Regions from separate parts of the Homo sapiens genome. Here region 1 is linked to region 2. Evidence: promoter capture Hi-C in 16 types of primary human blood cells and fetal thymus (Javierre and others, 2016). All regions are on one chromosome and are shown on one strand. Each heading gives the region's core, a stretch centred on a gene start or on the middle of the fragment in contact. The rest is flanking DNA. Distances are from core to core; before and after follow the strand shown.

Region 1 (5,397 bases), core at 1,977-4,476, 200 kb after region 2:
AACATTTGCACAAAAACTTGTATAGCAGCTTTATTCACAATCACCAGAAACTGGAAACCACCCAAGTGTCTTTCAACAGTTGAATGGATAAATAATGCTGTGGTATATCTGTGTAGTGCAATACTACCCAGTAGTGAGAAGAATAAACTACTGACACAGGCAACAACCTCCATGAATACATGGTGATTTTGCTAAGTGAAAGAAGGCAGACTCAAAAGGTTACATATTACATGTTTCCATTTATATGGTACTCTGGAGAAGATAATATGATAGGAAGAAAAGATCAGTGGTTGCCCAGGGTTCATTTTGGGAAGGCTGTGACTGTAAAATACTAGCATAGGAGTTTGATTTTTGGGGGGCAGGGGTTGAGAGATGGTAATGGAATCATTCTGTATCCTGATTTTGGTGGTGGTTACACAAATCTATATGTAGTGAATCTCACAGAATTCTACTGCATAGGAAAAAAGTAACTTTTCCTAAGTTTTTTTCTAAAAAAGGATGAGGTGGATATTTCTCTTGATTGAACAATACAGTGTAAAATATTGAGTACACACCACACCTGGGTGTGGGTGTACTTACAGAAATTTTGGAAGGATACACAGTACAGTGGAAGACTTTTGTATTCTTTATACATTTCTTTACTTGAATCTTATTTTTTACCATCTTTTTTATTGTGGTAAAATATACAATAACATAAAATTTACCTTGTTAATCATTCTTAAGTGTACAATTTAGTGGCATTAAGTACACTAACATTGTTGTGCAGTCGTCACCACCATCCATATTCAGAATTTTTATGTCTTCTGAAAGTGAAACTGTGGATCCATTAAACAATAACTCCCCATTTCTTCTTTTCCCAGCCAAACACCATTCTACTTTGTCTTTCTGATTTTGACTACACATTTAAGTGGAACATACAATATGTGTCCTTTTGTAACTGGCTTATTTCACTTAATATAATCTTATCAAAGTTTTTTCATTTATGTTGAAGCATGTGTCAGAATATCACTTTTTTAAAGCTAAATACTATTCCATTGAATGCATATAACACATTTAGGATGTTATTTAAACCCATGCAGTAAGCCCAACTTAGTAGAACCAGTCTGCCACCTTGTGGAATTTTAACACAACTTCAAATTTTACAAATTGAGAAGATGACTAATTTAGAAATGATGCTACTAGTGTTCAATTACTAGCTATTTTTTTGGTGTAAATTTAAAGAACTAGTTTTATTTAACATAACTGTGCAAGAAGTATGTGAAGAGAAACTCAAATGCTGCTGATGGGCCAAAATATTTGAGTACATGTAAAGTTATTTCCTATTCTTGGATAGGAGGAATGGACTACAAACATGAATTAAGTGGTCATGGAGAAAGACGCAAATGGCTTTTTATCATATAAAAGCTTACATATTACAGGATTTCAATCTCACTCATACAAGAAAATGCAATTTAAAAATTGTCTACAAAAAATTGTAGACAAAACAAATTTATCTCCAAAAACGTTGTAGACAAAAAATTATCTACAACATGGATGAACCTTGAAAACATATGCTAAGTGGGAAAAGCCAGATACAAAAGAATAGATATCACAGTTGTCCTTTATTTATTTATTTATTTATTTATTTATTTATTTATTTATTTATTTTTGAGACGGAGTTTCGCTGTTTCGCTCTTGTTGCCCAGGCTGGAGCGCAATGGCATGATCTCGGCTCACTGCAACCTCCGCCTCCCGGGTTCAAGTGACTTTCCTGCCTCAGCCTCCTGAGTAGCCGGGATTACAGGCACTCACCACCACGCCCAGCTAATTTTTACTCCCACTTCATCTTAGCCGAAAACATTTGGCAAATGGGAAGAGATTATGAAGTAAGAAAAAATAGCATTTACTAAGGTCTACTATAGTCCTCTACATAATTCTACCCAATCCTCATAACAGCCTTACTATATAGGCCTTATTAGTTTCATATTGCAGATGACTAAAACGAAGTTTGGAGAGGTTAATTGGTTTGGTTAAAGTCCTAGAGCTAGTTGATGCCACAGAAGAAACTTAAACTCCTGTCTACGGTCTCCAAAGTTGAAAATTTGGGAGTTCAAGTTTGGCATCTTTACTTTTCCTTTTTTTTAAACAAGGTCTCACTCTGTTGTCCAGGCTAGCGTGCAGGTGGCACAATCATAGCTCACTACAACCTCAAACTCCTAGACTCAATTAATCCTCCCACATCAGCCTTCTGAGTAGCTGGGACTACAGGTGCACGCCACCATGCCGGTTTTATTTATTTATGTATATATTAGTAGAGATGAGACCTTGCTATGTTGCCCAAGCTGGGCCTTCCTGCCTTCCTTCCTTCTTTCCTTCCTTCCTTTCTTTGTTCTTTTATTGGGGACATCCTTTCTTAAAAGAGATTTTGCAGTCGGATGTCTGATGTCCTTTTTCTCCATTTCCTATGAGATGTGTGATTCCACTGTTAGAGATACAGCACATATCCTGAGCTACGAGGGGTTGGCTGACTGTAGATTTTCTTCTTCGCAGGAAAAGTACAAGGTTCTGGATAGGGAGGCATGAAGTGGCTGATATGCCTGCCAAACAGGCTAGGCTTGCTGGGCTGCACCATAAAATGCCAGGGTTTGAACAAAGGAGAAACATCCTACTATTCCAGAATTTGGCTGGAACATCCCCTGATCATTTTAGAGAAACACTGCCAAAGGAGCATGCTCATGGATGTGAGACAAAAGTCACAATGGATCCAAAAACTATTCATTCAACAAGTACTTATTGAGCCCCTACTATAACCAGACACTGTTCTGTGCAGTGTTTGTTAATTAGAAAAATAGACCCAAATCCTTGCTCTCATTGAACGTTTATTCTAGTAAGAATAGGCAGAGAGGCTGGGGTCAGTAGCTCACTCCTGTAATCCCAGCACTTTGGGGAGGCAGAGGTAGGAGGATTGCTTGAGGCCAGGAGTTCAAGACCAGCCTGGTCAACATAGCGAGACCCTGTCTTTACAAAAAAAATAAAAAAAAGAATAGGCGGACAAGAAGTAAGTTAAATAGATAAACAATGTAGTGTGCTAGAAAGATATTTTACAAAAAAAAAAAAATGTTGGGCCGGGCACAGTGGCTCACGCCTGTAATCCCGGCACTTTAGGAGGCTGAGGTGGGAGGATCGCTTGAGGTCAGGAGTTTGAAACCAGCCTGGCCAATGTGACAAAATCCTGTCTCTACTAAAAATACAAAAATTAGGTGGACATAGTGGCATGTGTTTGTAATCCCAGCTACTGAGGAGGCTGAGGCATGAGAGTCACTCGAACCCGGGAGGCGGAGGCTGCAGTGAGCCAAGATCATGCCACTGTGCTCCAGCCTAGGTGACAGAGCAAGACTCTGTCAAAAAAAAAAAAAAAAAAAAACAGAAAGAAAGAAAAGGAAAAAAAGAAAGAAAGAAGAAGAAACCACGTGATTTTTCTGTTCAACGCTTTGCAACAACTTCCCATCTCACTTATGCAAAGTAAAAGCCAAAATCCTGGCAGTGGTTTATAAGACCCTATTTGATCATTGTTCTCTCCTCACGCCCCATCTTACTGTCTCCTACTCCTCTCCTCTTTGATCACCCACTCCAGCCACAGGAGTTCTCCGTGCTGCTCCTGAGCCACCCCAGGCACCTTCCTGTCCTAGGGCCTTTGTATTGGCCATTCGCTCTTTGAACACCCCGAAATAGCTGCACGGGTCACATGTCCCCTCCCTCAGATCTCAGAGTGGCACCTTAGTAAGCCTGTTCCTAGTGAACCAAAATCCCAACAGCCATATTCCTTCCTCGACATTACTTTTCCACATGGCACATAGCACAACTAACACACCATATTATGCTTTCACCTGGTTCACTCTTCACTTCCACAGAAGCTCTGACGGAGACACAGATTTTTGTTTGTTTTATTCATTGCCCTATCCCTAGTGCCTGGCTTATATTAGGTGTTCAGTATGTCAATGCCTTCCAGCCAAAGACCACCAGGAACATACCTGTAATTGAACAAGTTGAGTTTTTGGCTTGTTGTCATGAAAGAGAATGTACAAGAGGGGGAACCATGGAATGGCTTGGTATGTTAGCAAGGAGGATTTGGGCTTAAGTTAGGTGATTTGGCAGAGGTTTCAAGGAAGTGAGGTTTTGCTCTGAATTGAATGATGCCAGGAAGCAGGAATAATTATCTGATTGGGTATTTTAATAAATTTTTTTTTAGAAGGGGGAAGAAGAGAGCAAGGCTAAGGATATAATTGGTAAAGAAGCAGCAGTTATATTAGCAGGAAGAGGAGGCTATTTTTGTGGTTTACACAGTGACTTTATTTTTTCCTGTTCTTGGATAAAATTTATGAAGTGGTCTTGTTTTTGTTTGGTTTGGTTTTTGTCTCACTTTACCGAGGTCATAGAGTGCCCTTGTCTGATGTAGGTGCTCTGTGAGATTGTTTATGTTCATCAGAAGAATACCATGACCTGTCTGTGATGCCAGATGAGCTCCTAACACCACAGAGGGCCAGGTGATAGAGCCAGGCCAACTGCACATGTCAGTGGTTGCTTTTCTCCTTTTCAAGTATGTATTTGTTAAATGATTGAGTGAATGATTATAATGGTAGTCTTCATAAACCTAAAAGGCTATCATGTGGAAGTAAAGTTAGGCTAATTTTATAAGAATTCAGAGAATAGAATTGGAACAATGGGTCCAGGCATGGGTGGCTCATGCCTGTAATCCCAGCACTTTAGGAGACCAAAGCAGGTGGATCACTTGAAGCCAAGAGTTTTAGACCAGCCTGGCCAACATGGTGAAACCCCATCTCTACTAAAAATACAACAATTAGCCGGGTGTGGTGGCACATGCCTGTAATTCCAGCTACTCAGAAGGCTGAGGCACGAAAATCACTTGAACCCAGGAGGCAAAGGTTGCGGTGAGTCAAGATCGTGCCACGGCACTCCAGCCTGGGTGACAGAGCAAGAATGTCTCAAAAAAAAAAAAAAAAAAAAAAGGATTGAGACACTGGGTAAAGTCAGACAGTCAGCAAGCTTCAGCTTACCATAAAAACTTTTTAAAAATGAGCCCCCCACCCCTGCAGGGAGATAAGTGTCAATTGCTTGAATTCTTTACAGAATCTGGAGGGGACATTGTAGAAGTGATTAAGGCACCACACGGAGTGCTAGAGCTAGATGTGATGGCCTCAGATTTCCTGAAGTTCTAGGAAGATCTGCCAATGCTTCCTTGGCCTTTCAGGGTGCTTCCTATGAAGATCTGAGCAAGAATCAGTCACTGGCTATCCTAAGATAAGGAAGAAGTTGTCCAGGCCTTTAGGATTTCGCAGAAGAGAAGTGAAGACAGATGTAGAAGCAAATATCTGCAGTGCAGTTCTTCAGGGCAGTTTT
Region 2 (5,328 bases), core at 760-3,259:
GCCAGTGCAACTGCTCTGCTGGGGCTTCTAGTTGGGGGTGAGGAGGGGGGCAGTGGAGGAGCATCAGGATTTTCTCCTACCAGACCAGGATCAAGACTGTGGGGCTGTTCCATGGAAACATGAAAACATACTGCAGCTCCCAGCTTGAAAGGTCAACCCATGTATATAAGGTTTGAAATCCAAGGAAACCACTTCAAGGTCACAGGGCCACAATTATGAGCCTTTGGTGGTTTCAACAAAAGATCACTGTAATCAGAGACCGTAGTGGCCTGAATAATCATGATGTAGAAGAAGCTCTTTGAAAACTTTTCACTGAATCAACTAATTGAGAAGAACCAAATAATTTACAAAAGTGATTCTGATCAGCTGAATCCAGAATACATCACTCTGGATGATGACGACCCTCTGTCTCCCAATCAAATGTGCTTTTGTGGCCAGAGAGGTTTCCACGACTGTATCCGTCCTGAACCAACCAGGAGAGAATGAGATGGAAATGCCCCATTCCTTATTCCTGAAAACGTTACTAACTAAGTAGAGGAGGAAAGCACTGATACATTAATAGAGAGGAAACTACCACTGCTAAAGTCCACCAGTTTCCTCACACAACCAACCTCCTCCTCTACTTGCAAAGCAGGTCAACATCATACAGAAATCCGAGGTTTTTTTTTAAATCAATTTTGTTCTTTTGGGCATCAACGCTTATCTCTTCCAAATATGTGTTAATGTCGACCCTCAAGAAATAAATCATCTCCAAGCTTTGATATGAATCCTAGGCAGAAAAAATACTGGGAAGGTAATTTTGCAAGCTGCATTCAATCTGTCTAAGTGAGAGTAAGGGTTTTCCTAGGTAACGAAATGATTAGCTTTCAATACCCACCTCTTTGCAACAAATGCTTTGCAAGAGGCCTATCCTCCTGCAAAAGGTTTTATTTAAATAAAAATAACAAATAAAAAAAAAAAAACCTCTCTAACGGGTAGACTGAGCAGCCATTCTTCCCAGGGGACACTCATTTCGGGCTGCCAAGCTGAGGCTTTGTGAGCGCGCCGCCCCTCCGCGCCCCCGCCCCTCCTCCCACAGCGACTGCTCCTCCGAGGTTCCCAAGGCCACCTGCTTCTCAGAAGAAAAGGGGGATACCCTGAGCGCTATCGCAGTGTGCGGCCGGCGTCCCCGGCGGCGCCCCCGGGGGAAGGAGGAGGCGGTGTCGCCGGGAAGCGTGCTTTGTCGCGAGGGTCGCGTGGCCGCCCGCAGCGGCCCCAGAGGCCTGAGGGAGGTTTTGTCCCGGCCGTCGCTCAGAGCTCTCCTCTCCAAGGGACCTGAGTCTCGCGGCGCTCCGCTTCTTCCCGCGCCCCGCTTGGTGCCCGCCCGAGTGCCGAGGCCGACTGCCCGCGTCCTAGCCCCACCCCGCCCACCCGGCCGAGCTAACGGCGCGGCTCGGGGGAGCCTTCTCCATCCCGCCTCGGACCGGCTCGGCACCTGCTCTGCCACGCCCGCCCCCGGCTCTAGCTGTTCCTTCCCGCCCGCCCCGGAGGGTCCTGCGCCAACCAGCGGGTGCCTCGAGCCCTTCTGTCTAACGGGGAGGGGGATTTGCCCTCGAGCGATGGTCCCCCCGGGCCGCGCCCAGCCCAGCCCAGGGGGCCCACGAAGCCCCGGGACCCACCCCGGCGCGCACCGCGGCAGGGGGCTGAGTCCAGGGGGCCCAGCCCACCCCGCCGGGTCGTACCTTGTGCGGCGCCTGCAGCAGCCTATGGACCCCCGCCAGCTGGGTGCCGAGCGCGAGGTCCTCGCGGAACGTGAACAGCGGCGGCCGGCTGGGCTCGGGGAAGTTGGTGCTGTTGAAAGGGTCCGTGTCGTCCAAGAACTGCACCCGGCAAGCCAGCGTGGCCATGATGCATCCCTGCCGCGGGGGCGCGGGCCCCGGGGTTAGCGGGGCCGCGGGCCGGGACGCCCGGGTAGCTGCGCGCAGGGGAGGCCGCAGCCGCAGCTCGCTGGCTCGCGGACTCGCAGGCTCAGGCGCGCCGGGCTGCAGCCCGGGCTCCGGCCGCGGGGGGCGGGGCGGGGGCGGGGCCGGCGGGCCCCCTCCTTCCCCTCTCCCTCCGGCTCCTCCCCTCCTCCGGGTCCTCTACCCCCGGCCGGGCTGCCCCGAACGACCGGACCGCAGCCGGGAAAGTGCAAAGGAGACGGCTCGCGCGGCATCCGCAGCCCTGCGCCAAAGGCCGGCGGCGGAGGCGGGGCGGGGAGGCCGGGCGGCCGGACTCTGCTGCACGTGCGCCCCGCGGCCCAGGGCCGAGCTGCACCCCTCGGAGCCTGGAGGACCGAGTTGGGGAGTTGGGGGGTTGGGGGACGGGGAGACAGGCGGCCTTCTGACTTCTTCCCCACCCGGAGAAGGCTTAAGCCTTTCCAGATGAAGGCGGCGGCGGCCGGCTTCTGCTGCCCAGATTTGGAATACCCCGGCAGGGCACCAGGTGGCCAGGGAGCCGGCTTCGGCAGCAAGAGGGGTGGTGGCAGTGACCGGGAGCCCCACCTAAGGGTACGGGGAGGTTTCCCTTAGGGACAAAGAAGCTAAGAAAGAGGAGGGTGCGCCAGGGAACCCAGGCCGCTTTTAGGGCACAAGCCTAGAGTCGAGAGGCGTGGGGGCTGCGAGGCTTCGCTGCGGGACTCCAGCGCCGGGCCTGGACCCCGGGGCTCCCGGCGGATGCTGGTTAAACCTCTGCATCACCACGGCCTCTCCCCAGTTAGGCCGCCGAAAGCCCTAATTGGACCTTGTGGGGCCGCGGGGGCTTGGGGAGGTGGGAGCCCTTCTGGCAAGGTTCCCGAATTGCAGAGAGCCGGGGATGCCCTGGTAACCGAGGGACTGGGAAGGAAGGTTTGCGTCCTGCCCGCCCCTGCCAGGCGGGAGCGGCAAGACTCGGCGCTGCCTCCCACCGCTCTCCTCGCTGCTCACGGGCGACCCCCTTCGTTTTCAAGAAAAATTCACGGTTCTCCCTATTCCCAGGCCACAGCCAAGTTCCTGGTTCCTCCCCCCTTATATAGATCGCCCTCATAACACCCAGTCTCTCTTAACATCCGAGTGTTTTCAAGGCGACTCTATAACGCGTCTATCTCCCTTTCCTCTGGTTTCAAGGGAAAAGAAACCCTTATCCCTATTTAGCAGCCTCACCCACATCTTTAACCTCTCCCTCTCCGTGATCTCCCTCCCTGCCACACATACACACTTATGCCTGATCTTAAAATAATAATTCCACGACACTTCCGCTCCTTCCAGACGAACTTCTAGCTCTACTTTCTTTGTTATTTAACTCTTTGAATGAATCCTCTAGATTAGCCGTCCCCAATCTTTTTGGCACCAGGGACCGGTTTTGTGGAAGACGATTTTTCCACGGACAGTGGTGGGGTGGGGGTGGGGGGCGTTTGGGGGAGGAAGGGCAGATGGTTTCAGAATGAAACTGTTCCACCTCAGATCATCAAGAATTAGATTCTCATACGAGCGCGCTACCTAGATCCCTCGCATGCGCAGTTCAGAATAGGGCTCTCTCTGGCATGAGAATCTAATGCCTCCGCTGATCTGACAGGAGGCGGAGCTCAGGCGGTAATGCTCGCTCACTGGCCGCTCACCTGCTGTGTGGCCCGGTTCCTAACAGGCTACGGACCAGTACCGGTCTGCGGCCGCGGGGTTAGGGACCCCTGATCTAGACTGGATCTCCACCAACTTCCGCATCTCCTCACAGCCAGAATACTAAACGCACGAATTCTTCCCCTCTGAGATGGGCCGCCTGCACTTCCACCTTCACGTCCACCTCCCTCCTCACTGAGAGAGCCCTCCAGTCCTGGCCACCTCATTTCCTATCACTTTTCCAACCCGGATCCCAGCCCATCCTCTCAGGGGCCTCCTCTCCACACCCCTCCTTCAGTCCCACCTGTCCTTTGGGTACCTGGCTTGCTTCTGCCCCATCTACCAAGTGCCTGCTGCTAGTGGGACCACTCAGTGCCCCACTTCCACCCCAAAGCCCCTCAGCCTCTTACTCCACTGATGCTGCTGCAAGCTTCTGCCCCTTTCCTCGACTCAGAAATTAGTCAATAAGGTAAATAATTTCTCCAGAATGACTTCTAGCACCCTCTCCTCTTCATCTTTCATCTTATTTTCCATCTCCTCTCCATCTTCCATCTCCCACTTCTCAGAAGGTGACCAAAGTCATACTTTTCCTCCCATTCAAGGCTCTGCCCCCACCTGGACCCTGGGTCCCTTTCATCCCACTTGCTCTTGCCTGGGGCTCTATCACTGATCCACTCACTTCCACCTTCCTCCCCTGGCCCCTTACCCTGAGAACCAGGGCCTGCTTCCTGATGTGCAACTCTTGAAGCCACACAGGGCTCTGCACTTTAAAGGGTCCCAAATTGGTTTAATGTTTAGCTGTTGTTGTCTTGAATTTTTTAAATACTTTTTTAAGGAGTCCCGGCATTTTAGTTGTGCACTGGGCCCCATAAGTTATGTACTCAATCCTAATGAGAATAAATACTCAAGTGTTTTCCATCTTAAAAGCTGCATCTTTATGAAGCCCACTTCTCACTCTAGCTCCCTGGCTTATCTCATCATCACTTCCTAACCAACTTCTGAGAGAGAGCCATATTCATTTCTTAGCATCCTCATCACCTTTTCTCCATACCCCATGACATCTGGAAGGAAACCCCTTCCTGCCATTCTAAGATCATCAATGCCAGCCTAATTTTCTTACCTGGAGGACACCTTGGCCCTGCTACCCACTTTCTTGGCAGCATCTGTCACCATGGCACCATGGAAGATTCTTTTCTCAGACTCTTACCCCCTCAGCTCAATAGCTCTACCCACTGTAGGTTCTCCTCCTCCTTTGACAGCTCCTTCTCAAGTCTTTCTGGGCTTCATCCTCCTCTTGGTCCTGTTCACATTTCCTCTAGATTTTCCTGGCTTCAACCGTCCTCAACCTGCATGCATCCAACTCTATACTCACAGAGGAGTCCCTCTCCTCCCTTCTAGGCTCTGATTTTCACTGGGCAACTAAACATCCCTATCCTGGTTACCACATCATACTCAATTACACATTCAACCCAACACCCCAACCTGGCTGCCCATCCAGAAACTCTTCCACAAGGTTGCCGTCTGCCAGACTGCTTTACCTGCCTGTCTGCTGATTCCAATGCTCTCCAAGCCCTTGGAGCATAGAACACCAGAGCTATGGTTACTGTTAATTTATTGTCTGTGTTGTCACTAAAGAAAAAGCTCCTCTGGGCAACAACCATGCCATATTCAACTCTACGCCTACCACAGAGAAGACACACAATAAATGTCTAATGAA

What was found. The method cuts DNA at HindIII sites, captures the fragments that hold promoters and counts their contacts. A CHiCAGO score of 5 or more calls a contact.
Region 1: a fragment that was not itself captured here is called in contact with the fragment with the promoter of FHOD3 in region 2 in 4 of 17 cell types (megakaryocytes, M2 macrophages, endothelial precursors and 1 more); the score reaches 6.5 in megakaryocytes.

The regions. Positions count from the first base shown.
Region 1 is chr18:36,091,825-36,097,221 of GRCh38, reverse strand. No RefSeq gene overlaps it. Among named protein-coding and RNA genes, the nearest start is that of RPRD1A, 27 kb to the right of the region's middle. The HindIII fragment of the contact is 3,639 bases long and covers 1,407-5,045 here.
Region 2 is chr18:36,294,394-36,299,721 of GRCh38, reverse strand. It overlaps FHOD3 (formin homology 2 domain containing 3), which reads right to left and starts at 2,009. Exons shown (of 29, transcript NM_001281740.3): 1 at 1,722-2,009. The coding sequence starts at 1,886. RefSeq lists silencers at 1,767-1,836, 1,957-2,246 and an enhancer at 2,186-3,163. The HindIII fragment of the contact is 3,286 bases long and covers 758-4,043 here.